7 separate regions of the Homo sapiens genome follow, and regions 2, 3, 4, 5, 6 and 7 are each linked to region 1. Evidence: promoter capture Hi-C in 16 types of primary human blood cells and fetal thymus (Javierre and others, 2016). All regions are on one chromosome and are shown on one strand. Each heading gives the region's core, a stretch centred on a gene start or on the middle of the fragment in contact. The rest is flanking DNA. Distances are from core to core; before and after follow the strand shown.

Region 1 (4,067 bases), core at 1,071-3,570:
GGTAACACAGAAAAAGCCTCCTAGTTCTTGCCTTCAGAAAAGTTACATACATACATTTTTAAAGAGCAAATGAAGGCATACTATAGAAAAATAAAAAAAAAATATAAAACACACACCAAATTTCAGATTCCTAATCAACTACTGAAAGAGACGAAAAAGTCCTTTCTTCCAAGAATCAGACCCCTTGAAAAAAACTGAAATTTGAAAACATTTACTGAGATTGTGCCAGGTGAGAAAGGAATGGTGATGAGCAATTAATCCTCTTCTCTCTTGTCCAATAAACTGAAAGAGATCTGTGACGCAAGGTCCCATGACTTAATCAAATATGCATCCTAGGTGCCCAATAAAGTGCCTAGCTACCACAATGCACACAGCTGGTGTTCCATATATATTTTGTTGGCTGAATTAGTTAAGAAAAGCACATATTAAATGCTTAGTTCTTTGTTGTTTGTGGGTCAACAACAAAAGGTAAAACTGAGTGTCCCCAAAAGTGAATATTAAAAATTTAATTGGAGAGTCATAAATCTATGTGTAAGAAGTCCATCAAATTCAGAAAAGTAAAATACAAAGCAGTTTATAACGAAGTATTAAATTTACATGATAAGTACAAAAGGAAAAGGCAGAAAAAGGAGAGTTCACTGTAAGCTGGCATTGTTAGGGAAAGCTTCACGAAGAAGGAGGGATCTGACATGAGACATAAATCAACTGGAAAGGAGCCAAGCCAGGCGTTATTATTCATCATTTGGTGTTATTGCCTCAAGGCACAATTGGCACAGATTGTGGTATTCCCTCTCCACCATACCAAACCGGCCTGTGCTTTCCCCACGCGCACACTCTCTAACCACTCCTATCAAACCCAATCAAGGTAAAATAGACACTAAATCGATTTTATTTATATGTGTGTCTGCGCGTACACACGCAAGCGCGCGCGCGCAACTTTTCCTATTATTGCCCTTTCATCAAACTCGGAAACAAAACTGGGAGGAAGAAGCAGAGAACTGGAGAAGTGGCTGGAGGGGGAAAGCCACTAGAACCTAGCTCCTCAATTAGTTTTCATAACAGAAAAATAAAGATGAGAAGAACACATCCTCCGGTCTCCAGCGGCAGGCGACACACCGCGACACCCCTCACCTCGTGACGCTGGGGTTCTGCGGCACTCCCGGCCAAAAGCACTTTCCGAAAAAACTGCCGCTCCAAAGCCTGCCCGCCCGCCGCCGCGCGACACCCCGGCGCCGAGCCCGGGTCCGAGTGACGCCTCCTGTTGGCCGCGGCGGTTTGCTCAGCTCCTGGTCCCGGGCCGCGCCAACTCCGCGCAGTGCAGCTGAGGCGCCGCCCGGCTCTGCAATTCCGGGTGTTCCCGGGCGTCCCCGCCCCCGCCTTCCCCTCAGCAGGCGCCTGGGCGCCCCCCAACTCCTGTCCAGCCTCCTTCGGACCAACGACCCGCCCCGGCCTCCCTGCATCCCAGAGACTACTCGCGGCGCCTTCTCTCTCTAATTCTTCTTTACCCCCTCAGCTCACCTCCCGAGGAGCGTCCAACGGGTCTTGGGGGCTCGCAGAACTGAGCCGCGAAGCGCGGGGGAAAGGCGGCGAGCGCTTCCCGCGGCGGCGGGGAGGAAGACGAAGACTTGTGCGCTCTCAAAGTTAATGTGAAAACATCTTCCAAACTTCTGGGCTGCAGCCCGAAACGCGGGGTAGCCGGAAGGCTCCCGTAGCTGCCGTGCCCTCCCCCCCGGGGTCTGGGAAGGGCTCCTAGGCGCCTCAGAGCACCCGGGGTCGGCCCGCGGGGGAGGCCGCATAGACGCGCCCCCACCCTGACGAACGGGGAAGGGGCAGGCGCCTGCGACCCCAACTAAATCCTTCGGCGCCTCGGTCTGATGTATACACCTGCCACAGGCTCTAAGTGCCTAAGAAGTGTAAACCAATTCCATCTTCATGCTGACGGGACCCGAGTGAATTCGGTACAAAGGGCAGTCTCAAAATCAATCACCCCGATCCGCGAGAGCCCCGCACACTGCCGGCGCGGGGCCGGGGCCGGGGCCGGAGCCGCGAGGCCGGCGCTCGCACTCCCCGCTAGGGTTCTTCAGCCCCTCAGTGCCCTCCCGGAGCCCTTTACCTGAACGGGAGCCTGAGAGAACGGACGACAGGAGCCGAGTGGAAAGCAGTGCCCGCGCCGGAGATCAGCGCCGAGGGCGGGAGCCGACGTCTAGGGACCACAGAGCCGCGACGCGGCGAGCCGCGCACGGGCCATTCCGCCGCCGCGAACGCAGAAAGCCTCGACCGCGCTCCGAGTCCAGCCAGCTCGCCTGTCACCTCGATCTCTGCTTTAAGTGGCTTCCGGTCGCCTCCTCCCGACGGCCCGTCGCGGAGGCGGAGCCTGGGCGGCCGGAGTTCGGTGGGGTGGGGTGAGGAGGCCGGGCGCTCAGTGGGTGTCGGGAAGAAGACCCGCCCCCTGCGCGCGCGTGCGCGTTCGTTCGAGGGGAGGCGCGCGAGTTCTGTGCGGTGGACTTATGCTCCCGCGAGGGGGCGTGTCCTTTCTCGCGTCCGCAGTGTCCCTGAGGGTCCGCGTCTACACGCGGCTGTGAGGAAGGAAGGCGCGTGCCGCGTGGGACGGGCTCCACCTGCCTGCGGACAGATGGAGGGTCACTTTGTTCCGAGAAGACCCAGACACCCGAGGGAGGATGTGAAACGGAACGACCCGTTTCGGTGCGGTTGGCTTTGTTTATTTGCCTACTCCCCAGACGCCTCCAGCCTCTGATTCCGGCACACCCTGTGAGGAAGCAAACGGCTGCCTCCCCCACTGCCACCAGACGAGGTCGCCTGCCCCGAGCCGGACAGGCTGGACAGGCTGCGCACCTGCGGCGGCCGACTATTTCGTGGGCCTTGTACGCCACCTTGCAGAAGGGAAGCTGTGAGGTTTTGGCGATAGAAGCGCATTTACTTGTGTTTTAAAGCCCACAAACGCCGTAGTGACTAACTTATTCATTCAGCAAATGTCTGTCAGAGCGTCTATTACGTACCAGGCATGTAGCCTGAACTTCACGCCTGTCCTCATGGAGCTTGCAGAGCACCTCTGAAATACACACCACATACGGAATGGCCATATTTTCTGGGTTGTAAAATACTTTGAATTGTAACTCCATATATTGAATAGATTTTCAGTAGTGAGGGAAGAAACAATACATTTAGTTCATATAATCCATATGTACGAAAAAGAAGTGCTGGTAATTCCAGACATGGAAGTCAGTAAAACTAGGAGCTAAGAGGTAATAATCATAGACATTATGATTCTAAGCCTTTGTTAAACGGTTCTAAACCAGACTGGGTAAGCGCACCAGCAATGAATAGATTAAGGGTGTTATCTCCTTAGCAGCTTATTTCAAATTGCATCAAGGCAGGGCCATTAAACTAAGGTGAGAATGATATGGGCGGAATTCAGAGGACAATAGGTAAAAGATGAAAATCTTTACATTTAAAATCTTATTGAGACAAGATCTTGGTCAGTGTCTACTCATACATAGAATTGCCTAGAAGCTAATATTTGAGTTTACCATATTACTGTTGGCTTTCTATTTTTCTCATTTGTTCTGTTTCTTTTCTGTCCTTTTGTGCCTTCTTGTAGATTATTAATTCCACTCCCTTGTAACAATTAGGTTGTTATACATTCTTTATGCTTTTAGTAGTATTTCAGTTATTTATTGCTGTGTTCAAACCACCCCCAAAATATAATGACTTAAAACAATGGCTCTTTTATTTACTCATGATTCTGAATTCTCTGGCACAGGAATTCAGTCAGGGCATAGTACAGGTGGCTCATTTCTGCTCCATGATGTCTGGGGCTTCAATTAGCGTGGGCATACTGGGGCCTGGCTGGAATGGCTTAACTAGGGTCATAAGTCTTGGGACTTAAGGATGGAGATGGAGTTTCATGACAAAAATGAAGTGAACATGATGTGGAAAATATGGACATGGAAGCCACGAGCTAAGGATGCTGGAACAGAAAGAAGGCTGTTAGCTACATACCTTGGTTTTTCTCTACATGGCTTCTCCATATGGCTAATTTAGGCTTC
Region 2 (4,067 bases), core at 911-3,410, 510 kb before region 1:
GACGTTCCTTCAATCTTTGAAGTTGCTGTCCTTTGGATGAGTTTTAATTTTTTTTTGCTTTTATCTTCTTTGATGCCCTTGGGCGTTTGATTGTTATATAAGGTGGGTTAAGTTGACTGTCTTCATTTCTGGAAGATTTTAGGAGACCAAGGATCAGCTCAGCACTTCTGGGCTGCATGCTATAACTCTAGGGGGCTGGTATCGGGCCCCTGGCTTTGTCCTCTGGCTGCTGGAGGTTAGGACCACTAGCAACAATACTCCAATGGGTGATGCCAGCAAAAGTGCTTCTTTGGGGCAGTTGTAGCAGGATCTATGCTTGTTCGCATATGCCAACAACAGTGGCAGCAAGGCGGGTCCATGCTCAGCAGCTTAGGTGGGGTACTGGTAGGCTTGGGGGCAGTCGCCTTTTTGTACACATTCACACTGGTGGTGGTGTGTGCACAGGGACAAGGCACTGATGGGGACAGCGCTATCGGCTCCATGTGTGTGTTTTTACTGGCAGCAGCAGCAATGCGTGGGGGACAAGGCCACTGGCCTCCATGCACTTATGTCGGCAACAGTGGCATGGTGGGGTACATGTGCACACCCATGTCAGAGAAGGAGGGCAGGCACCATGCTGGCTAAGCAGTGTGGAGTGGACGTGGGCAAATGAGCGCAGGCAAAGTGACGCGAAGGAGGCTGCAGTCAGGGGAGGGTGTGGGTGGGTTGGTGCACGTCGGCACAGGCTGCTCTTTTGGAGCTCTCTGATGGTATGACAACAAAGGATCTATGATATGGATTCACAAAACGCACCCTAGTTGGGCATCTGAGGCTGCACTGCAAGCAGACTTGGACAGGCCAAGAAGAGGCTAGCAGACAGTGGGGCACTCAGATAAGACTGCTCACATCTCACAGGCAAGACTGTCCTGCTCTGTTCAGGTCCGATAGTTTCTGTAAGGCTAAACTCTCCTAGGGGAGCATGGTGAGCCTTGAGAGATGGGCATCCCTGGTCATGCTCCACTTCAGACACTCCTGCACCAAACCCCCTGGGCTCCTTGCAGGCTGGAGTCCTGCCCCTACTACCTCTCTAAACGGTTATCCTTGCCAGCTTAAGTGTCCATGGGGGTCATGGGGTCTTTGGCTGCCAGGATTCCAGAGGTCCATGGTAAGGGTGGGTCACTCCTTGCCCATTCAACTCATCCCTTCCCCAAGAGTCACTGGGGGCCAGGAATAAGTCCTAGTGTGCAGTAGCCCCATGCAGTGTTCCCAGCTTCCTCTCCCTTCAGCCCAGTATCTGTGTCCTCCCTCTGTCCACTCTTAATGCCTTTCCTCCAAAGATCTGTTAAATGTGCACCAGTCTTCCTGATGTCCCGGTCCCTCAGTGACAGATGTTCTTCCTGGCTGCATCTAGTTGGCCATCTTGAATCTTAAATTTCTTAGGGATAATAAAGGTAATTGTGGTTAAGTGTATTTAAATCACCAGCATGGGTAATAGAAAAGGAAGAAGAAAAAGAAAAAGACTTTTCACCAAAAAGTAAGTCTGAAGGAATGAATACTTTCCAGATGGGAGAAAGGGCATTCCAGGCCAAGGTTACACAAGTAGGAAGGTACAGGATGAGGACAAAACATGAGTTCTTTCGGTCATTGGACAAACATTGTATGAGGACTACTATGGGCATAATTCTTAGCACTGAGATTATGTGAGAGCAGTGAAGAAGCACTGAGAGCAGTGAACAAGGGCCAACCTCCCTGCCTTACAGGTTTTGCATTCTAGTGGTGGGGGTGGAAGGAGGGAGGGCTGGAGAGGATAGATAATAATGATGAGTGGAGAGCCTTCTAGGCAGAAGAAATTCCCTACTGACGTGACCTAAGGAAAAGTGTGTCCAGGTGTGTTGGAACAACAGCTGGGAAGCCAATGTGCTTGGAAGGGAGAAATCTATGAGAGAACAGCAGGAGAGAAGGTTCCAGAATTACTGAGAGGGTTTTAGGACATGATTTAAATTTTGGCTTTTATTAATAGTATGAACTTATTGAGGAGATGAATGGGATGAGTTGACCCAGTGATAAAGCTGTTAAAAGGATCACTTTGGCTTCTGTGTTGAGAACAGACTTCAGGCAACATGGGTAAAGGCAGAAAAGCCAATTAAGAGGCCACTGTGTCACAGCTGCTGATAGGCTGGGAAAGGTAAAGTGTGAGAATTAACCAATGGTAGAGCAGTCACAGTGACCTTGATAGGAGCAGGTCTAGTGATGCAGCAAGGGTGAAACCTGGTTTGAGTGGGTCCAACAAAGAATGGAAAGAGAGGAATTAGGAAAATGTTGAGATGTGTCTATTCCATTTAGTGCTGCAATAAAGAAATCTGAGGTCGGATAACTTATAAAGAAAAAAAATTTGGCTGGGTGCAGTGGCTCAGGCCTACAATCCAAGCACTTTGGGAAGCCAAGGCAGGGGAATTACTTGAGTCCAGGAGTTTTGAAACCAGCCTGGATAACAGCAAAACCCTTTTTCTACAAAAAATTAAGAAATTAGCCAAGTATGGTGGCACGCACCTGTAATCCCAGCTACTAGAGAGGCTGAGGTGGGAGAATCACTTGAGCCTGGGAGGTCAAGGCTGCAGTGAGCTGAGATGGTGCCACTGCACTCCAGCCTGGGTGACAGAGCGAAACCCTGTCTCAAAAAAAAAAGAAAAGAAGAAAGAAAAATATTTTATTTGGCTCACAATTCTGGTGATTGGAAAATTGAAGACTGGACATCTGCATCTCAAGCTGCTTCCACTCAGAGCAGAAGGCAGAAGGGGAGCCAGTGTGTGCAGAGATCACGCAGCCAGAGAGGAAGCAAGGTAGTGGATGGGGGGCAGGGGGTGGAAAATGCCAGGCTCTTGTGAACAACCAGCTCTCCCAGAAACTAATAGAGTGAGAACTCACCATTAAGGAAGGGCACTAAACTATTCATGAGGAATCTACCTTCAAGATCCAAGCACCTCCCATTAGGCCTACGTCTCCAACACTGGGGGTCAAATATCAACATGAAGTTTGGAGGGCACAAACAAACCACATCCAAATCATAGCAAGGTGTTTGGCTGTGAACAAACAAAACAAAACAAAAAAAAACAGAAAAATGGGGCAGTAACTAGAGGAGATGAGAGATCAAAAGAGAGGCCTGATTTTTTATTAGACAAAGTAGAGATTGTGTATTGATGAACAATCCATTGACTGATGATATTAACTGATTGATATGGATTAATATATAATTAATATCAATTGAGTGAGTTGGGAGTCTGTGGCAGGTGGATCACATGAGGCCAGGAGTTTGAGACCAGCCTGGGTGACAGGGCGAGACCCTATCTCAAAATCAATTGATATTAATTGATAATACAGAAGGAGGGTACAACTGCTGCTGTAATTACCTTGAATAAATGAAAGAAGAAGAGCCATTGGGCACAAATGAAAGGGTTGCCCTTAGCTAGGATCATGGACAGTCTACCCACAGAAACATCAGGGAAGGCAGAGTATGTAGACCCAGGTGCAGAAGGTGAGTGGACAGCTGGTGAGGGCCATGGAGGTCTATTCAGATCACTTCTGTTTTCTTAAGGAAACTGACAGAGTGATGATGGGAGAAGTATGAGAGGTCAGAAGAAAGAAGGGAAGGAATGAAAACTAGGTATCCAGGAGAGTGTGTTTATTATCAGAAGGGTTATCTAGGAGAAGGTGAATGTTCCAGGGAAATATGTGGTTGCCACACAGAATTAAGAGTCCACTCAAGGTTGGGGTCATTTAGAGTGAGCCCAGGAAGCATGGTTGTGTGTCTTTCTGCAATTATATTATGCTGGGTGGGTTTAGTTGGGTGCTGAGATTATGCAAGGGAGTGATTATAATGACTGATCATGGAATTTAAACCAGGTAAAGAGAATAGTGAGAATATAATGTGGGGTGAAAAGAACTAGGAAGAGTGAGCTGCAAAGATTAGAAGTGGTAAAGAAAGACTGAGATGATGGCTTGGATGTGAGATAACACAGTTTAAAGTAGGTCCATGGAGTAGAGTGGCTGCTACAGAGAGAGAACAAAATTGTTGGAAAAGGAGAAGTCAA
Region 3 (4,067 bases), core at 597-3,096, 490 kb before region 1:
AATTCTTTTTCAAGGCATGGCAATTCTATAAGTCATATATGTTCAGTGTAATATGTGTGTGTGTGTATCTATAGACTCCACATTCTAGCGTACCACAATATTCCTTTTATCAGTCTTTCCATTAAGTTGGATTTAAGATTAAATAAATAAAAAGGAGTTATGTATTCATGTAACTGAAAATCCTAGGGGTAGAATATAGGGCATGTCTGCAGGGACATAAATTAATATATTTTTATACATATATATTAATTTACATATATATTAATTTACATATATATTAATTTATATATATTTAATGCCATTCAAAAAGTGGCCTGTGGCCCAAGGACTGGCACCTGACTCTGAACTTATTACCCATCTTCAACGAGGTAAGTGAAGAATTGAGAGTAAACGTTTAGAAACTTTTATGGCATGTTGACAGAATAATTTGATGTCTGTTGAATCTAATGATAAACAATGCAGGCTTGTATTTTCAATGTCTTTAAAAATTTCAGCTGGATGAGGTGACTCAGGCCTGTAATCTCATCAATTTGGGAGGCTCAGGAGTTTGAGACTAGTCTGGGCAACACAGTGAGACCCCATCTCTACAAAATAAATTAAAAATTACCCAGGCATAGTGGTGCAAACCCTGTAGTCCCAGCTACTTGGGAAGCTAAGGTGGGAGGATCACTTGAGCCCGGGAGGTCAAGGCTGCTGTGAGCCATGATCATGCCATGGCACTCCAGCCTGGGTGACAAAGCAAGACCCTGTCTCAAAAAAAGAAAAAACTAAAAATCATTTTACTAATATCTTTATTGGATTTTTACAGAAGTATCATTCCACACTAGTTTCCCAAATGTGTTTCTTCACTATAGATTGAGAAGCATTGCAACAGAGAACTTCAGAAAGTAAAATATGAAAGCCTCCATCCCACCTACCTGTGTTCCCCAATTTTCACCAAAATGATTTTGTTACCTTCCCCAAAGGCAGCAGCATCATATCTAGCCTTCCAAATATATACATATTGCTTCCTTTTTTCTTTTTTTTGTTAAATTTTGAAATGAGGTCTCACAATATTGTCCAGGCTGGCCTAAACCTGTGACCTCAAAAGATCCTTCAGCCTCAGCCTCCCAGGTAGTTAAGATTATAGGCACATACCACCATGCCTGGCCAGATATATACATATCTCTATATGATATATACATAATGTTATACAAAAGGTATCATACTATACATGTTGTGTTGGAACTTCCTTTGGTTCACTTAATAATATATCTCAGAGATCCAACCTTTTATTTTATTTTTTTTTTTAGAAACTTTTAAAGAAACATTCCCAATGCCTAGAATAGAACCTGGTACTTAGTTGTCAATTAATAAGTAAGAATTTAAAGATGAATGAATGAAGACAAACTGTTCACAGCTGGCAGATCAAAAATCCCTGGCCAGAACAACAGGCATTAACCATTGACCAACACCACATAGGGAATCTGCATTTCCAAGGACTGGAAAATACATGAATTAATCTATAATCATTTTATGTGCTAACAATTTTTTGTGGTAGGTGTTATCATTTTATTGGTGAGTAAACTGAGCTTAAATAATTGCCTAAATAAGCAAATTAATTTACCTCAAGTCATGTAGCTTTGGATGGTATTTTTTTTCCCAGTGGAGGAATAAATACGCATTTCTTCTCTTCACCTGCAATTTTCACTGGTTGTCCCACGCAGAATCAGAGTCAGGAAAACTGTACGTAGAGAAGCTTTTATCATTTTATATGTTCCTGTCTTACAAAGCTCCCTCTGGCTTAAGGCTGGTGGCCCACATCTGATAACATTAAAAAACATAATTAATATGGCTTATCTGATTTTCCAGTGCTATTGAGATAAAGATATTACTGAAGTTTACCTTTACTTGAAGAATCTCTAAGGTCACTGTATATTTTCTAGGGCTGCTGTAACAAGTTACAGGAAGCTTGATGGCTTAAAACAACACACATTTATTTTCTTATAGTTCTGGAGGTCAGATGTCCTAAGTCAGGTTCACTGGTCTGAAATCAAGGTGTCAGCAAAGCCAGATTCCCTTGATGGGTCCTGTTTAGTTATCATGCTGACAAGTATGATTTAGTCTTGAATTGCTGACTAAAACCAAGACTAGTTCGTTCTGACATTAAATACCATAAAGAATGAATCTGTCTAAAGACTGACTTGATTAGATTATTTGCAATCAGCTAATATTTATTATCTACTATTTGCAAGTACCTCTTTGGACCTTAGTTTTCTTGTGTGTAAAAAAGAGAGACTGAACTGCATAATATTAACTTTAGCTCTAAAAGCAAATTTGTGGGTTTGTTGACTTTATAGTTGTTTATGAAATTGCCTTTGGCCATACATCTCCGTCACATATACCCAATTTCCAGACCTATCTCCAAAACTGTCCCAGAGCCTGCGTGTATACCAGACACCAAAACCCTTCACCATACTGCTTTCTGTGAGTTTCTACCCACTCCCCAGCCCCCACAATATACACAATCTCTTTGGTTATGGCAATTCCAACAGGCCTCTTGTTCTGCAGCCCGTGCCTGTATGGAGCAGAAGTTATGGACTATTTAAGTAGCCCACTGTAAGAAAACAAAGAACAAATGTGGAAACACAGCTGATCTGCTACAAAGTGCTGCAAAGAGAACAGGATAAATGGGGGCCCTGGACCCTCTATTAGGGAGAGAGGGCTGTATTGGTAGGACAGACACGTGAGGATAGAATTAGCTCCTGAATGGAAAAGAAAAGGCAAAACCAGGTTGTCTTTGAAAGGCACTAGGAAACAAGTGGGCAAATTCAGTCCACGGGTGCTGATTATGTGCTTAACATACACACAGTGTCTACCAGGTGCTGTAGAGGATGCAAAATAAATGTAAAATGGTCTTATTTTTGTCCAGACATACACCCATGATAAGATCAGTAATAACGTTTAATAGTAAGGAAACATGTCAAAATACATACCAGAGGTCATAAATGCTAGGAGAGGCTCTGAGAAAGGAGAAAATTAGCATAAGTTAGATTAGGTGGGGGAAGGCTTTCGGCAAAACGTAGAACATCCCAAGTCTCAAAAAAGTTGCTAGGATTTGATTAACAAGGAGGAGTAGTAAGAATTTGCAGGGTTGAGAAATAGAAGGAGGGAAAGTAAATAACATGTTTGTTAGTGAGCAGACAGGTCCAGTTGGTCTTGGTTCAGGCAGAAACACAGTGGGGAATAAGGTGAGGTGGTAATGTCACAAGGAAACAGAAGACAAGGTAAATTTAGATTGTGGAAAGCCTCAACTGCCAAAAGATATTTAATCTCTATCCTTTACACTTGATCTTAGTCAAAAGGCCAAGAAGTCACAATCTCTATTTTTTATCTCCAAAGTTTTTATTCAAAAAAGTGAGGTAGGGAAATTGGTATTTCAAAAAGATTGAGAGATTTCCCAGGACAAATAAGGATGGGAGAAAATAGAGACAAGGAGACCATTTGGGAGGCTACTATAATGGTCCAACCATGATGTAACAGCAGATGTGTAGCTGTGAGAATAGACAGAACAGGGAGATTCAAAAACAATTTCCTTCCTAGAAGGAAGGACCAACAGAACTTGGTGATTAACACAAAAAGAAGAAATAAGAACCAAAAATGAGTCTGAAGTTCGAGATATGTTTATGACCAGAGACAAATAATTTTAGACCTGCAAGGGTCAGACTCCCTCACTTTAAAGATGAGAAAACTATGTTTGCCCAAAGTCTCAGGACTAATTCTCAACAGAGTCAGCAGCAGAATTTCCAGGCCAGGGCTATCAGGAGATGTACCAGGCAGCGTATGCCTAAGTGTTCATTACAAATCATTTACAGAGTGACTGTATTTCTAATGAAGAGAACAACCAGTTCAGAGTGTGTGTACTCATATAACAGAGAGGTCATGTTTTATAACAGTCATTTAACTACATGAACAGCTCATGCATAAAGTCAGGTGCTCCTCCCTGCCATCAATAGAAATGTGATTAGCAACTTCTTAAGGTTATACCCTCTCCATAATGGCAACAAGCATGACGACTTATCCCTTCT
Region 4 (4,067 bases), core at 1,021-3,520, 440 kb before region 1:
TAAGTCCTCTATCTGTGTATACAGGCCTAGAGGTCCCAGGGCCGGATATAAAATTTCTCTGGACAGGGCCTGCTCCATAACCACCTTCACATGCTGTTCTTCAAACATATAGAATTGGGTTGATAGTGGAAACAATTTCAGGTACTTTAACCCAATTCTAAATATTCTAAATTTTAGGTATTTTAACCTTGGAATAATATAATTTTTTCTTCTTTTTTCTGTGTATAAAAAGACGTACATAGTTGATATGACACTATGTAATGTAACTCATAGATCACTATGTAATTTTGTACCTGCATTCATTCAGCATTTTAACATGAATTAATATTAATATTTTTCCATGTTAACTCTCTATGTAAAAACCATTTGCAATAAGCATTTTTCCATTTAGTAAGCTACCTCATATTTTATTAAATTGTTTTTCTACTGTTACACATAAGAGTTTTCTCCAGTTTTCCACTATAATAAATAATACTGCAGTGAACATCTTTCTTCCCAAAGCTTTTTTTGTTCTTTTTTTTCCTTGCTTTTGGTTTACCTCCTTAAAAGAATTCTGGGTCAAAGGTTATGAACATTTTTCAAAAGACCTTTGTTGTCATGATGGCAGAGAGGCAGCACTAAAATAGTTTGGAGCAATAGGGATTTCACCAAAATAGCTATGATTGATATCTGGAAAGAAAGACAGAGAAAATAATGGCATGGGAATCTTTCTAGAGTTTTAGGGCCTTGTTCTGATTTAAAAAAAAAAAAATATATATATATATATATATATATATATATGAAAGGAAAATAAATCTTCGGGCCCCCAAATCACTAAGGGAATAATCAAGCTGGGAACTGCTTAGGGCAAACCTGCTTCCCATTCTATTCAAAGTCACCCCTCTGCTCACTGAGATAAATGCATATCTGATTGCCTCCTTTGGAAAGGCTAATCAGAAACTCACAAGAATGAACCGTTTGTCTCTCAAGTATCTGTGACCTGGAAGCTCCCTCCCAGCTTCAAGTTGTGCCGCCTTTCCAGACAGAACCAATGTACAGCTTATATATATTGATTGACGTCTCATGTCTTCCTAAAATGTATAAAACCAAGCTGTGTTCTGACCAACTTGGACACATGTCATCAGGACCTCCTGAGGCTGTGTCATGGGCATGCATCCTCAACCTTGGCAAAATAAACTTTCTAAATTAACTGAGATCTGTCTCAGATATTTGGGGTTCACATATATATGAATATATGAAATAATTGTATATCTTAGAGTCCCATTCCTGGAAGTTTAAACAGCTGTACTCATAGCCCACACTTAAGTAGAAAGTTGGGAGAATATCTGACAGTATGGGTGACAACTGCTTACTCTAGGTGCAGATTGGGGCTTCTCAGGCAGCTATTGGCCCCAGGGTAATTAGCCTTCTGGTGACTACAGAAGTAGAAAGTAGAGATCTCCATCTACTTTACAGTTGAAGGCACTGAGTCTCAGCACACCCAGTTCAGTGGTTGTTAACTCTGGTTGCATAGTATAATCACTTAGGGTGATGAAAAGACATCCAGAAAAAAACATCCAGGATAGATCCTCAGATATTCTGATGTAATTGGTCTGAGGTGAGACCCAGGCATCATTACAATATGAAAGCTCCTTGGGTGATACTAATATGAATTAGGATTGAGAAGCTCTGGTATAGTGGGAAAAATATGGGCTTTGGAGTCACTAATATCTGATACAGCTCCCAGCTTTGCCATTTATTGGCCATGTCATTTTGAGTAAATTAATGACTACTCTCTGCTAAGGGTCCTCATTTTAAATCATAAAGTTGTCACAAGGGTTAAATGTAATAACATGCAAAGTGTTTTTCAAGGTTTCTGGAACATGGTTGGTGTTAAAAAAACGTTGGGTCCTTTAGTATGTACCTAAGGTCCTATAGCTAGCTGATGGTTCTGGAAAGCCATCCAGAACCGTGCTGTGCACTCAGTGAATGCCTGTGGATGTTCCTTGGTGACATCATCTTTGAACATGAATATGGGTGTTACTGAGACATTTCGAACACCACATTGAGTTGGTGTTCATCAGAACAATAAAGCCATACCTCATAGAGATTCATCTCATTTGCTGAATATTAATTTGCCTCCTATTTTTAGTTCTTCAGCTAAAAAGAAACCAATTTTTATTCTGCTAAACCAATTGATTATGATGGAACTCTTGCAAGAAAAAAGTTAAACACTGTTACAATTACATAAATGTATGGAAGTCTTTGTGTAACTTATGTAGTAAGCTGAGGATATAACAGTTAAATTGTCCTTTAAAAATTTTAAGACCTGCCCCACCCTCCACCCCCAGCAATGAACGATTTCACTTTTCACCAGCTTTAACCTAAATGCCTTTAGCCTATTTTCTTTATCCATCCTATGATAGACAGAAGAGTTAGTGAGAACTGGATTTGATTTCAGAAGACCTGGGATTGAGGCTTGGCTCTGTCATTCACTGGGTATAAACCTCGGGCGATCATTCTTCTTTGCCCTTGTGCCTTCTCATGAATGCAATGAGCACCTGAATAGCATGACCTGACTTTAGCATGAAGTGAGTTTAAAACTGTGATGCTGACCAAGCAGGACATGGTTATTTAACACTTATTAAGCACCTCCTGTATGTCCAGCCCTCAGTAGGAAACCTTGCGGGAATTATAAAGCCCTGAGACTTTTATAGAGTAACTTGGAGTCTAGCTAGAAGAGATAAATCTCATGCATGAAGAACAACTAGGACCAGTTTCCACCTGAGAGCTGCAATAAGTCCAGCCCAGTTGACTCATGGAGGAAATAAGTGGAACATTTAAGAAATGACAATCATGGAGAAACGAAGGGGTGTCAAAATTGAATGTCCTGTCCCTTAGTGCTTTATTTCTCTTCAGTCTCTGACACAAAGTCTTGGATAGTAATAACATGACACAAAACTCCTTCAAGTTAGATAGGGCCAGGCATTTTTCTAACAGCACATTCCAGAACTTTGTCTGTCCATGTCCTAAATCCTTATTATTTTGCCCAGTTTTCAGCAGTCTTTTGCAAGCTCCAGGCTTTCCCCCACTCCTATTTAGACCTCATGTGCCTCTGATAGCTCTGGACAGAGCCCATACTGTGTGGCGGACGCACAAAGGGGACACAGTATGCAAATGGCGGTGTAGGAAGCATCGAGGCAGGAATGTTTGAGCTGTGCCATGTCACAGATCATTTCTGAAACAGCAGTCCCTGAGCTGTGAGTCACAACCCTTGTTAGGGGTGAACAGCTGATGAGGCTGGTGTCAATTTTTGTCTGACCCCATCCTAAGAGCAACACCCCAAGTACTTCAATTACCCATTTGTAACATTCTCCCAGCAGTGGAGAAAGGAACAACAGTGGCAGCCCACACAGTGAACCTCAAAAGTAAAGCTCTCTGAAGTATGAAGATAGAAGAGGAAGTTTGGGAGACTCACAATGAAAGGGTTTAACAAAAACTGCCTGTGAATGTGTTGACTTAGAAACTATTGGAGCATTGGCAATGATTTCCTTAACAACGGAAGGAAAATTGACCAGGGGCATGAGTGTTTCATTCATTTTTCAGATGAGTATAGCAGAATTGCCAAGAGAAAGAGAATGTCTGCTCTAGCGCAGGGTTTCAGCCCTCAGCCCAGCCACTGACTCCCTTGGTGTTCTTTTGCAAATCATCCATCTCCCTGGGTCTCAGTTTATTCATCTGTAAAATGAGGAGCTGGTCCAGGTAAACTGTAAGTTCCTTCCTGGCTGGAACATCTTGATTTGATGCAAGCCATAGTGAGGGTTGTTAAATTATGCCTTGCTCCACGCAGAGAGGTCTAACTTAACTTTGTACACAAAGCGTACTCATTGACTTTCTGACTAAGTGTGGCTCAGGCACTTCCCTGAACTATAGTGTGCTGGGAGTCTCTGCCCAAAGGAAGAGAGCTATTTTGAGGCAGGGTTGATTAGAGATAAGGTGTCTCATTCCTTTACCGGTCATTGGCCCTGACTCACCCGAAGTTCTTGGGTTTAAAGCTTAACACTTGATGGATGAATGTAAGCTAACCC
Region 5 (4,067 bases), core at 948-3,447, 430 kb before region 1:
GGAAGGATCTGTTCCATGCCCCTCCCTCCCAGCTTCTAGCAGTTTGCTAACAACCTTTGGTATTGTTGAGCTTGTAGAAGTGTCACCCTGAGCTCCGCCTTCATCTTCACATGGTGCTCTCCCTGTGTGCATGCCTGCCTCTGCGCCCAAATTTCTCCTTGTTATAAGGACACCAGTCACTTGGGATTAGGGTCCACCCTAATGACTTCATCTTAACTAATTATATTTCAAATGACTCTATTTCCATATAAGGTTCTATTCTGAGGTACTAAGGTTAAGACCTCAACATATGAATTCTGGAGGACAAAATTCAACCCAGAAGTCTACCTTGTATTGGGTCCTCACGGCAAGGCTGCAAAACCCGGGGGGTTGGTGGCCCAGTCCCACCTCCCATGAGCTAATGAATGTGGGTAAGTTGTTTAACCTCCTTGTGCCTCAGTTTCTTCATCTGTAAGATGGGGATAACACAGGCCCACAATTTTGAAACGTTAAAAGCTCCAAAATATGAAAAAATGGATTTATAATTCATTTGGCAGCAAAACCTGACCTGAAACAAGCACATTGACTAAAAGTATCCTTGTATCTTGAGTTGACGCAAGGATACTTACAGTCTTTACTTATGCAACATATATATGTGTCACTACAGAAACTAGAACCATTAGTATGTTTCATAACAGGATGCTGTTGCAGATGCCATGAGGTGTTATAAAGCCTATGGTACATATACTGTATATCTTTCTCAAATCCCCAAGTTCTGACATGCCAAGCACTGCTGGTTCCAAACAAGGGTTTGAATAAGGGACTGTGGCTCTTCAGTGTATCTATCACAGGGTTATAATGAGGATTAGATTACTTAGTATTTGTACAGTGCATAGACTATTATCTGGCACATAGTAAGCACTGTATACATATATTTGTTAAATAAAATAACAGCTGCCTTGTCTAAAGTAACTCAGGTGGAAGGCTAGGGAGGAAGGTTCTTTGAGACTTTGAGTGCAGGAATGCCTGACACCAGAAGCTGTGCTGTCTGTGCTGTCATGCTGCCTCTGCGACTCCAGGTTTGGGGCTCATGTCCTTTGGTTCACAAACCAGCCTTGTTTATGCAATAGTTTGAAGCAATCTCTGCCTTCTGAGATGATTATTAAGTGAAATCAGCCTTCTGTTTGTGTTCGTTAGCTTCGCCGCCATAACAAAATACCACAGACTGGGTGACTTAAACAACAGAAATTTATTTTCTCACAATTCTGGAGGCCAGAAACCTGAGATCAAATTGTCTGCAGGGTTGGTTTCTTTGAAGGGCTCTCTCTGTGGCTTGCAGGTGGCTGTCTTCTCCCTCTGTGTTCATATGGTCTTCCCTCTGTGTGCATCTGTGTCCTAATCTCTTCTTATAAGGACACCAGTTATACTGTATTACTGCCCACCCTAATGACCTCATTTTAACTTAATTACTTCTTCAAAGGCCCTGTTTCCAAATACAGTCACATTCTGAGGTACTAGGCGTCCATATATGCATGGCGGCGGGGCACAGGAAGGGGACACAGTCCAGCCTATAACACTATTTTTAGAAACTAGATAAATTATCACTCACAGCAGATGAATCCCATATGCTTGCTGGCTTGTTTCTGCCCCAGCATTTTTCAAAGTGTTGTCCAGGACCACCTGCAATCGAATCACTTGGGCTTTTAGTAAAAATAAGTCTGCTCCAAGCCCTTGAGTCAGAATCTGGGGCAGAGGAGCACAGGGCCCAGGGATAAAGCCTACTTGTATTTTACATTCATACAAAGATTTGGCTTAATTAAAGGGACTTGGGAAAAGCCAGGTAGTGAGGTATGCCGCCCCCCCCAACCCCCGCTGCACCCCCACAGCCACTGTAGTCCCCCAGGTAAGGGCAGCCGAAGGAAGAGCACGAAGGAGGGAGTCAGGCAAGTGTGAGTCTGAGCAGGGAGCACCATGCATCTGAGGCCTCCTCTAGTGTGGCTCACTGGAGGGCCACGAGAGAAGCTCCTTTCCACTCAAAGCTTGCCTCCCAGTACCAATGAATGCCCCCACCCTCACCCCTTTCAGTAGATACAGGGGACTTTGCAGTGTAGATGCCAGGAGAGGCCACAGGGGAGGCCACCTATCCAGAAATGCCTGTGTTCCACAGCCTGACAAAGATTCTAGTCATTTCCCTTGGGCGGGATTCCCCTACCCCTAACCCCCAGCTCCTGGCAGAACTCAAAGATCCCCCTGCCTCTCAGAATGGTGGAAGACCTGTGCCTTGAAATAATGTTTAAGAGACAGGAAATAGTGTCATTTTTCCCAAGCCAAATGCTGAACCAGGGAGCAGAGGTTGAGGCAGGTTCACATAGTCACTGACTCTGCTCCAAAGCTTCCTGCGATGTGGGTAAGCCGGTGGGTCATTTGGCTTCCTGGAAGCTGATGTACGGGAAACAGGATTGTCATACACATGGGTACAGCCTTTGAATCACGTCCCAGACAACCAACGTGAGCCCTCTAGAGTGGGTGTCTGCTGCAGGTGTACGTGTGTGTGCACACCCATGTCCCACGCCTGTGTTAGGGTGGCCACCAGCCTCTCATGTCAAAAATTCTAGCAAAACAGCTGGTGAGTGGGACTGTAAATGATAGTGATTTTCCTAGCACCATGACAACAAGACACCATCAAAGCTAATGGCGCTAATCCATCCCTCGTATTTCTCTGCTGGTTCTGGCTTAGATTTTGTTTCTTAAAATACTTGCCTGGCTGGCAAGGCAGTGACTCACCTGCACCAGGACTGAACAGAACAGGCAGGAGGTATTTTCTTCTGAAGAGCTGTCAAGAGCCAATACAGCACCTGAGGTCTTTCATTTCACACGTTGTTCCTGTCAAGGAGGAGACATTCTTACTCTCTTGTCAAAGTTGGAGTTGCCAAAGAAAGCAAAGTGGTTAGAATGTGTCAAACTTTGGCATTTGTATTAAACAGAGTTTGAGGAAACCAGGCAGGTTTGACTGAGAATCTCTTCCTTGTCTTCCATCCAGTGCAAGATAGGCCACATTTTTACAGAGAACTGTCAAAAAAGAAAGTTCACATTAGAGTCACTCAGCTCCACGTGGGTCCTCTGGTGGCATCTCTCTCAGTGTCAAATCCTAATTGTTAGGACTCCATGAATCCTGAGTACTTCAATGATTTAAGAACTCTTCCGAAGCTGGTAATTTGGAAATTGCATTGTTAGTAAATATGAATTAATAAAAAAGCAAAGTCAAGAATTTTACTGGCAATGAAACTATGTTTACTGGTCATCTCTTAATTCCATTTGAATTCCACAGGCCATAAACTGTGGTATATTGCAAAATACCCTGAAGTCAGACGTGGATTCACATCCTAGATTTGCTGCTTATTAATTGTGTGACTTTAGCCGTTACTTAGCCTCTCTGAGTGTCCATTTCCTCAGCTGTCAAAGTGGGAATGATACCATTTCCCAAATTGTATTGCAGTGAATATAACAAGAGATCATGAGTGTGAGAGATGCTAGTACAGAGGCTGGCCCATAAATGCTCATGTCTTTTCCTGTCTGTTGTTTTTTTCTGTAACTTAAATGAGCATCATTTCTAGCTAACTAATGTTTTAATGTTGACACATTTCAGTAGATGGTTTTCTATACTTTTAGAATGTCATAAATGATTCTCCAAGAAGTAGAAATGACTAGGATACAAACCCTGAGACCAGCAGTTGCCAAAGTCACAAGAGGTGATTTGTATGGTCCAGACAGTGATGCAGGAGCAAAGCCTCCGTTTTGACTTTCAGAGATTTGGGAGCAGTGAGGTGCAGTGCCCTTTGGAAAGGTCAGTAGAAATGCTCTGTGAAATGTGAAAAGGTGGGTGCCAGCTCAAGGGGTGCCAGGTGAGGTCCCACTGGAAACCTGCCTCCTCCATCCCTGCCTCCCTGTCCTCAGCAGCACCCTTTCATTTTCTAGTTAGATCGGCTCAGGTCCCAGCTGACTCCTTCTGGATGTCCAGCCACAGACATTTGTCTTTGTCTCCAGCACTTTGAGTCAGAACCACAGGTTTTCGTATTTGCTGTGGTTTT
Region 6 (4,067 bases), core at 1,105-3,604, 390 kb before region 1:
CGTTGAGGCAGTAAAAGATTGATTTTTGAGGCAGTGACTGAGGCATTATGCATTAATGACTACGCAGGGATTTTCATTCACATATCACGCACTGACAGTGGAAACTGAAGCTGCTGTGTAAGGTGCTGGCTCAATGCCCTTCCATGACTCCTTCCTCATCACGTCATTTGCCTGCCGAGATGCCGGGGCCTTCCGAATCATGGGGTCGATTGAGTAAAGGGCCCATGGTTTGGTGCAGGGCATCTCAAGCCAACACACGAGAATAACTGATGCAGCTGCTGAGATGAGAAGGTCTGCCGCAATGCTAATAACTCCACCTGGCTGCTCTCACATTTGACTTCTTGTATTCAGATTTGGAGAGACAGCTGGGAGCCTCTGATGAGAAAATAAAAAATTTACAACAATAAGCAAGCTGTCCTCTGACACCAGGAGAGGAACTCGCTTCAGCCCTGGCAAGAATTGCAGCTGGACTTTGTGAGGCACTGTTTCATCAGATGCCAAACATCATAGCAAGGGCAAGAATGACAAGAATTACAGTTTCTGCCCTGATGCACAGGTACTGATGGAAGAGATATTTCTGTGTTGATTTTGCACTTCTCAGGGCAAATCTGCAAAATAGATATCAAAGGAGATGTGGGCACTGGGCAAGGAGCCACACCAATCAACCATATAGAGCAGTCTGGAGGAGTCTCTCCCCATCTCCAACCCTCAGTTTTTCCCACCTGTTAAACACAGGCCACAATGTCTGTGCAGCCACCTCGCAGTGCAGTTAAAAGAACCGGTTTAAACAGTGTTTCTTAGCTTAGAGTCAATGGCTGAACAGGTTGCAGAGGGGCTGTAAAATCCTGAAATTTGCATGAAGCAATTTTTCCATATATGTCCATGTGCATCTTTTTGAGGAGGGGTTTGTCGCTTTCACTATATTCTTAAGAATATAGTCACTCTTAAGAGGTTAAGGGCCACTGTTCTAGGTAATGTGTGAAGGTGATGTATGTGTCCTGTAATTGAGCTATTATCAGCAAGCTTTTTGAGGAAAAAGGGACACAGAGGAGCACTTATTATGTGTTAGGGACTGTGCAGGACACACAGAGAATAGAAAAAAAAATGACCCTGGCCTTCTGGAGCATATGATAGACTTTAGATATGAGCCCAAAACAGATTAAAAGTTAAAAGGAAAAGCTAAGTGTAGGCAACACAGGTGAAAGGTCAGAAGAATGTAAGTGCCCCATAGAAGGAGAGAAATGGACTTCCAGCTACAGTGGGTTTAGGGATGGACACAGAGCGAGGGTGGGATTGAGTACAGGGAAAGGCAGGCAAGAGCATCTGTGGAAGAGGGATGGCCGGTGCAGCAGAGCTTGCATGCTGAGTTGACACGCTCCATGCCAGAGACCCTTAGATTGGGACTAAGTGTCACCGAAGAGAAGGCTGCGTTCAACAGATAGTTCTCAGGGTGACAGTTCATCCCAGGTGCCCTCAGACCCACATGACCTGCTCTTGGTCCTTCAGCCTCCGCTCTGCAGATGGGGCTGAGGGGCCCACCCAGAGAAGCCCTGTGGGGGAGAACAGAGCCTGCCCAGGACAGATATTCTCCTCCTTAGGAGCAAGTCCTCTTGACCCCCATGTTCCAAGCAGGAAGCTTTTCACATGTAGACTTTCTTCCTGCTGTGATGCACAAAAGCAGCCTCTTGCCAGTTAACAAAGTCTGCTGGAGCCTCCTGGGGCCATGCCTAGCACATCGTTACCCGAAGCAGACTAGGCAAACAAAGCCCTAGAAAATGAGAAAAAATGGAAATGATTTGATATTTTAGAAAAAAATATTGAAGTGTTTATCGTGGGGAAAACTGGAACCCTGTTAATATTTTTACTAGTATTGTATGGCATGGCAGTTTCTAAATTCTGCATGTGGTGGGGCCACTGTAACTCTTTCTGGGCAGAGTACTCTGTGATGATTCTACTCAGACCCTGGCTCCACAGACTGGCAAGGCCGCCCCTTCCCAAATCAGCAAGTGTCCTGGACCAAATGGTCATTTCTCCACTCCTCTGGGACTCTGAAAGAGCATTCTCCAGAGCTCTTGGGATCTTGCCTTGGCTCTGTGGATGTAAAGATCCCAAAGTCTTTCTAGAATGTACTCTTGAAGACTGAGTTGACTCTGGAGATCAGTGTAGGATCACTGTCCCCACTTTGCAGCCCCAAACCCACTTCCCAAGGGAGTAATTCATTACCTGCAGTCCTGATTACTCAAAGGAAATGTCTAATGACGTCTGCTCTGCAGTACCCAAGGACCTGAGACCAGGACTCCTGGCCTCTTTTCAGAAAGAGTGGAGTCTGCCATTTCCTGACCACCGCCCTGTCCTCAAGGGCAGCTCATCTCCCGTGTTACATTCCTGCATGAACCCCCGCCCTGATCCTGTGACTTGTCATGTGCCACAGTGCCATGAGATTTGTGTTACTTTGCTTCTGTTCCTGAAAGTTATCAGTTCCCCTTTTCTTCCTATCACTGCCTGGCTGAATGATGAGGGTGCCTGAGGGGAACTGGGTTTCTTCTTTCTGTTCGCGGGTACCAGAAGCAGCACACGCAGGGCCAATGGCTTCAGTTATAGCCACTGGGATGAGGCGTGATTCCTACAAGCCAGGAGAGAAAGACAAGCCTGAGAGATTTTGTCTCAAGGGAGAGACCTCTTGGGGAGAGCCAGCTTCCCATTGCCCCCTGTACTGATCTGGTTTTAGCATTCCTCTCAAACAAAGCCAGGCAATATCTTTTGGGCTCTCTTTTCTGCACTAGGCTCATCAGATGGAGGAGGGGACTCTGGCCCAGCAGAAGGCAGCAGGAGTCTGGCTTTGGCTCTCAGTCAAGACTCCTTCCAGTTCACTTGCTCCCTTGTTGTTTTTAATCAGTCAAAGCCCAGAGCTCCAGATGAAAAAGAAGTGGGGAGGGAGAAAGGCTAAACCTCAGTTCAAGTTAAAGCAGGATTATTTATTTTAATTATTTATTCATACCAACTTCCAGCACAGCACCACATACACGATGGCTGGTATTTAGAATTTCTCAGTCGTGTCTGATCAAAGCTTAACAGTTCCTGGGTCTCTTCACTTCCACAGAATTCTACTTTGGTGGGGTGTGGTGGGGTGGGGAGGCAGGAGTTCGATGTGGGAAATTAATTTGGGCTCAGAGATTAACAATGGTTAAATCTTAGTGTACCTCACCTGCCAGGTAACATGGTATGGTAAACAGTTTTGGTTTTGGCTGGCTGTGCCCTGACCTACCTCTAAGAATTACTTATTCTACATATGGAAAGTTGTTAGTCAGGGTGTCTGCCTTTCTCTGGCCTGGGGTAATGCATGTGAGCCACATGAGGTCGGTCAGATCCTCCTTCCTTGGAATCTGACATTTGAACAAAGTCATCAAAAGATGGAAACCAACTGGAGCTCATTTGTGATTCACAGTTGTGTAGCCAAGCGACCCCAATGAGGAGGTCCTAGGTCTTGATTCTGTGCTGCTTCTTGCCTATGGCGTCACCCCGGTTCCTGTTTGTTCTTTCCTAGTTTCTGGACCTGATTTCCAGTTGAGCTATTGAAAGATCAGCTGTTTTTCCAGTAAATTCCCTTTTGATTTAGATGAGCCAAGGTCAGTTTCTGTTGCTTGCTACTCAAGGAGCTCTAACTACACCCACAGTGAACCTTTGTTTCTCAGAATCCCTTTAGTCACACACAGGTTTCAGAATGGTGCCCTAAAATTGTGCTAGAAGCAAATAAAATCTTTGTGTTGACTTGGACTGTGTTGTAATCATTTCCTACAATTTATTTCCTTAATTGCCAAGTTCCTACTGGCTATTCATTGATTGTAGTTTGTAGCCTGTCTTTTGGTTTCTTTCAGCATTTTTTAGTTCATGTCACGCTTGGCCAAAACTCCCCACCCCATTCCTGGGACCAGGCTTGCTTTCCTCATGGTCTGCCGCTTGACAATCTCCAGGCAGAAGACACTCAGATACCTGCTAGGGAAACACAAACCCGGACAACATTTCTATAAGCCACATTAGAAAAACTATCAGCAAGAGCTTCTAAAATG
Region 7 (4,067 bases), core at 863-3,362, 370 kb before region 1:
GTAGACTAATCTTTTGGAAGACTAGAAATCAATTTGATTTTGTTTAGTAACTTTACATCTTTTGCACATGGAAGGGATCCCAAACACCTTTGAATTCTCTGATCTTATTAAGATGGTCAAATAGCAGAGAATTTTATGTAGCATATTTTAAATGTGTTACTATTATTCTAATATGGGAATAGGAAGTCTGGATGTTCATGATGTAGTCAGATGGAGTATTTAAGTAAAGTTAGTTTTTGAAGGAAAATACACTTCTATTAGATGGAGAAAAACATAGATGAACACTAGACTAAGGCAAAGAGTTGTGTTTTAAGAAACAGGAAGTGTCTGCAGATTTAAAATAGAATAGATGATCTGGCTTCTGGTTTTACTTTTTCACTCTGAAAATAGAAAACATGTTAACCAGTTACCCATTTTCAGGGGTAATAAAATTTGAATCCCAAATTAGCTCTGTATAACTTTACTAAACTGTCTTGAATTAGTTCTTTTCCCAATGGTTCGAGAATACAAGGTCTAATAAAGACCTAACTCTGAGTACCAAAAAGCACTCATTGTAGAAAGTATCTATCAATATGATCAGGTTCTTTGTTTACTAAAATAATCTACATAATTTGAGAAATAAACTACCATTTCCTTGAATTGACATTACCATCTCTTTTTCTAGAAGGTCCCCAGCCACTCAGAGAAGATTGTCTTCCTGAAGGTTATCTATCATTAACTCTGAGCTAGCCTAAAGAGAAATTAGATTAACCAATTAGATTGTAAGGTGAGGAAAAGATGTTTTTGATTATGATGATGAGCTCTGCAACTACCTGAACTAAGCATTTTGGAGATTATCTAATTTTAATTAGATAAAGTACTTTTTTTTTCTGTTTGGAATACTTATTACATCGATTTAACCTATTCGGCTCAACAAACAAATGAACACATACCAACAAATCTCAAACAATCTATTTTTTTGTGGAAATATATCTGCTTGTAGTGGCGCAAGAAATTGAAAAGATGTTATGGGTGAAAAATTTTACCTGTGATCTCTAAAAGGCTATATTCATAGAGCACATTCCAACATAAACATAGAAATCGGACCTCTGGAATACCAACAACTTAATGATCTGTTACTCTATCAAAACCCTCTTGAAAAATAAGGCTTCACAATTTTCCAGCTTTTTACAGTCTTTTGTTAAATACATCTATAGGTATGCCTTCCTGATCTGTGAAAATAATTTTATCATTGTCATTCTCAGTTACAGTGAATTCCTGGCACTCTCTGAAAGAGCGTGCACGCTGTAGGGAGCTTCCTGCTCCTCATTTTGGATCATTGCTGACTCCGCCTTCTCCTAAGAATGGCAGCCAGTCTCTGTCTAGTCTCATTTGCTGAAGATGCTCCACCCCTGGGAGGATGTGGCTGGGGGAGAATGGGCACGCCTGATCTAACCCTCTTCGGCTTATCTGAGGTTGGGAAAGTGGTGGGTTTTGACACCCCGCGCAGGTTGGGAATTTGGATTCCTTTTTCAGAGTTCAGTCTTGCAAGGCTTCTCTCTCCATGATTACTGACTGCTGCAGCAGGGGAGGTTAGGCTGCCCTTGCTGAGGGAACACGGTGAGAATGGTAAACTTCCACGAAGCTTACTGAGCTCCAGGAGCTGTTCTCTGGCTTGACTCAAAGCCTCTGTCAGTTCAAAGCGTTCTTCACATTCTCTACGCACTGTCTCCTGAAGAAAAGTATTCTGAAAAGAGAGAGGGGAAAAGAAAGCAGACTTAGCTTTAAACAATGTACATAAGTAGATAGTTACGGACAATACAATTTGAGAACAGAACTGGAAATCAGAGGTCTGTATTCTTTGTCTCTATGACACTCTACCTCATGGGACAGACAAGTCAAGAACAGAAATAATCTGTGATGGTGGAAAGAAGTTGAAGAAAATATTTGGTTCAACCCTTGCAGTTTGCAGATGAGGAGTCAAGAACTACAGAGACTGAGTGACCTGTCCAGGGTTACTCAGATGTTAGTGGTGCGGCTGGAGTTAGAACTCAGGACTTCTTATACCTAACTTCAGTGGAGTTTCAACTTCTCTGCCTCAAGTCGCAGACAGTATGCTCTGCACATGTAATACTCAATAGTTAATAGCTGTAGAGTCATTAAATATATTCTTTTGTAGTGAAGGTATACTATAATAACATAAACAGGTAAAAGTGCTTGAAGTATAAGATTGAAAGAATAAAAAAATCAGCTATAGCGTTGAAACAATAAAATCAGTTCTCATATGATGCTTTCTCAGTGGAACTTAAATAAGAGGCTCATTTGCCATTCTGTAAGATAATATCCCAAAATAGAGAAGATCTTCTGCTACTAATTCTATTCATTCAGCAATCATTTACCAAGTTACTAGAAGCTGTAGTGAATACAGTCCCTGCCCTCAAGAAGTTTGTACCTTCGTAGGTTTGAGCAGAACTGCCTTTTATGTCCATAATAGAATCTAGACCCAAGGTGAAAACTGTGGGGATTAAAATAAGGAAGAACTTTTTAATAGATCTATCTGGAGGACACTCAAGGGTTGAATCTCACTTGACAGGGATGTACTGAAGCAAATTTAAGCTTCAAATGTGTGACTGGACTAGAGATAATTAAGTCTCTTCGAAATTCTGAAATTCTGCATTTCTAGTTGAGGTGTTACCTATGTTTTGTCTATGGAATTCATCAAAATTATTTCAAGTCCCATGGTAAGAATTAAGTCTTGGATCTCCCCAGTGTCCTGACATTCATGTCTTTATGATGTCAAAAATGAGGCTGAAAAGTAAATAATTCAAAGCAGTATCCTAGTAAGTAAACACAAGTAAAATGAGTGTGCTATAGGATTCATCAACTCAAAAATGAATTTCCATTAGGTTACCTTGTTTGTAAAAACAGCCAAGGCATTCCCAAGTCTGCTTCTTAGTGTAAAACATCCTCCCTAAGGGTTGACTGACTAATCTGCTGTCAGAAGAACTAAATAACAAAGCACCAGGGACAGTAGTATCTTCCTGTTTTTGAGTTTCTCATGATTATAGACAGAACTCTATTCAATTCCAAATTTGGTAATCAAAATGGAAAAATATGGAGCAATTCCAGATTAGCCAGTTGCACAGTAATTTTTTATAAAAGCTGCATTCCTGGGTCAAACAAATACTCATCATTTACATATACGATTTATTTACTACATGACACACATTTTAAAAAAATCATGGGTTAATCACTTGCTTCCAGTTATTTTTATTTTTTGGAGGAACTGGAGAGAGCAAGGATGGTGTTTGTGGCTTTATCACCTAGTTCTCATTAACTCTAGTGGAAACAGTTGTGGAAAAGGCAGGGGAGGAGGGAATAGAGAGGAAGATTAACAAGGCACCATGTTAGGTGTCATCTTATTTCCTGCTCCCAACAATTATATCTGACGAATAAAGACACTGAAGCTCACACTGTTATGTAACTTGCTGAGAGTAACTCCACTCTGAAGTAGTAGCCCTGCTCACTTTCAGAGACCTGCTCCATGCTGCCTATGCCTAAATTAGTTGTCTAATTCATTACGTCAAACATGCAGGGACCATTTTGTTCCCAGGACACTGAAAAAAAAAAAAAACACAGAAGGACATTTTCATCTGGTTTTGCCCAGGTTTTCTAAGTTCTATTAATCAAAGTTTCTTTTAAAGTGGGGGGAAGACCCAATCCATTATATTTTTTGCCTACTAGTAGAGTAAGCTGGCAACGTGTTGGAGTTATTAAAGTGGTGTATTAGTCCATTCTTGCATTGCTCTAAAGAAATACCTGAGACTGGGCAATTTATAAAGAAAAGAGATTCAACTGGCTCATGATTCTGCAGCCTGTACAGGAAGCTTAGCCACTTCTGCTTCTAGGGAGGCCTCAGGAAGCTTTTAGTCATGGTGGAAGGCAAAGGGATAATGATGCATCTTACATGGCGGGAGCAGGAGCAAGAGAGTTGGGGGGAGGCCCTACACACTTTAAACAACCAGATCTCATGAGAACTCATTCAGTATCACAAGAACAGCACCAACAGGATGGTGCTAAACCATTCA

Evidence for each region. Contacts are between HindIII fragments. The CHiCAGO score rates a contact against its expected background, and 5 or more counts as called.
Region 2: a contact is called between a fragment that was not itself captured here and the fragment with the promoter of TIPARP in region 1, in 9 of 17 cell types (total CD4 T cells, naive CD4 T cells, naive CD8 T cells and 6 more). The highest score is 9.2, in total CD4 T cells.
Region 3: a fragment that was not itself captured here is called in contact with the fragment with the promoter of TIPARP in region 1 in 14 of 17 cell types (naive CD4 T cells, activated CD4 T cells, naive CD8 T cells and 11 more); the score reaches 15.7 in naive CD4 T cells.
Region 4: a contact is called between a fragment that was not itself captured here and the fragment with the promoter of TIPARP in region 1, in 12 of 17 cell types (activated CD4 T cells, total CD4 T cells, naive CD4 T cells and 9 more). The highest score is 13.3, in activated CD4 T cells.
Region 5: a contact is called between a fragment that was not itself captured here and the fragment with the promoter of TIPARP in region 1, in 12 of 17 cell types (naive B cells, non-activated CD4 T cells, total B cells and 9 more). The highest score is 10.9, in naive B cells.
Region 6: a fragment that was not itself captured here is called in contact with the fragment with the promoter of TIPARP in region 1 in 15 of 17 cell types (total B cells, naive B cells, M0 macrophages and 12 more); the score reaches 23.1 in total B cells.
Region 7: a contact is called between a fragment that was not itself captured here and the fragment with the promoter of TIPARP in region 1, in 5 of 17 cell types (naive B cells, total B cells, non-activated CD4 T cells and 2 more). The highest score is 11.1, in naive B cells.

The regions. Positions count from the first base shown.
Region 1 is chr3:156,672,843-156,676,909 of GRCh38, reverse strand. It overlaps TIPARP (TCDD inducible poly(ADP-ribose) polymerase), which reads right to left and starts at 2,320. Exons shown (of 6, transcript NM_015508.5): 1 at 2,114-2,320. It overlaps TIPARP-AS1 (TIPARP antisense RNA 1), which reads left to right and starts at 1,197. Exons shown (of 1, transcript NR_027954.1): 1 at 1,197-3,739. RefSeq lists silencers at 1,235-1,594, 1,965-2,034, 2,065-2,114 and an enhancer at 2,525-2,824. The HindIII fragment of the contact is 8,735 bases long and covers 667-4,067 here.
Region 2 is chr3:157,183,376-157,187,442 of GRCh38, reverse strand. The region is part of intron 2 of LOC101928236 (a long non-coding RNA gene); the gene reads right to left. Among named protein-coding and RNA genes, the nearest start is that of CCNL1, 25 kb to the right of the region's middle. The HindIII fragment of the contact is 9,450 bases long and covers 1-4,067 here.
Region 3 is chr3:157,166,673-157,170,739 of GRCh38, reverse strand. No RefSeq gene overlaps it. Among named protein-coding and RNA genes, the nearest start is that of CCNL1, 8.6 kb to the right of the region's middle. The HindIII fragment of the contact is 212 bases long and covers 1,741-1,952 here.
Region 4 is chr3:157,115,344-157,119,410 of GRCh38, reverse strand. The region is part of intron 1 of LINC00880 (long intergenic non-protein coding RNA 880); the gene reads left to right. Among named protein-coding and RNA genes, the nearest start is that of LINC00880, 5.6 kb to the left of the region's middle. The HindIII fragment of the contact is 3,533 bases long and covers 504-4,036 here.
Region 5 is chr3:157,098,278-157,102,344 of GRCh38, reverse strand. LINC00880 (long intergenic non-protein coding RNA 880) reads left to right here. Exons shown (of 4, transcript NR_034007.1): 3 at 253-410. LINC00881 (long intergenic non-protein coding RNA 881) reads right to left here. Exons shown (of 3, transcript NR_034008.1): 2 at 2,764-2,862; 3 at 1,210-1,659. Among named protein-coding and RNA genes, the nearest start is that of LINC00881, 10 kb to the right of the region's middle. The HindIII fragment of the contact is 353 bases long and covers 2,021-2,373 here.
Region 6 is chr3:157,062,927-157,066,993 of GRCh38, reverse strand. No RefSeq gene overlaps it. Among named protein-coding and RNA genes, the nearest start is that of LINC02029, 17 kb to the left of the region's middle. RefSeq lists an enhancer at 2,220-2,349 and a silencer at 2,620-2,699. The HindIII fragment of the contact is 1,431 bases long and covers 1,639-3,069 here.
Region 7 is chr3:157,042,999-157,047,065 of GRCh38, reverse strand. LEKR1 (leucine, glutamate and lysine rich 1) reads right to left here. Exons shown (of 13, transcript NM_001004316.3): 13 at 937-1,726. The coding sequence ends at 1,316. Among named protein-coding and RNA genes, the nearest start is that of LINC02029, 37 kb to the left of the region's middle. The HindIII fragment of the contact is 971 bases long and covers 1,627-2,597 here.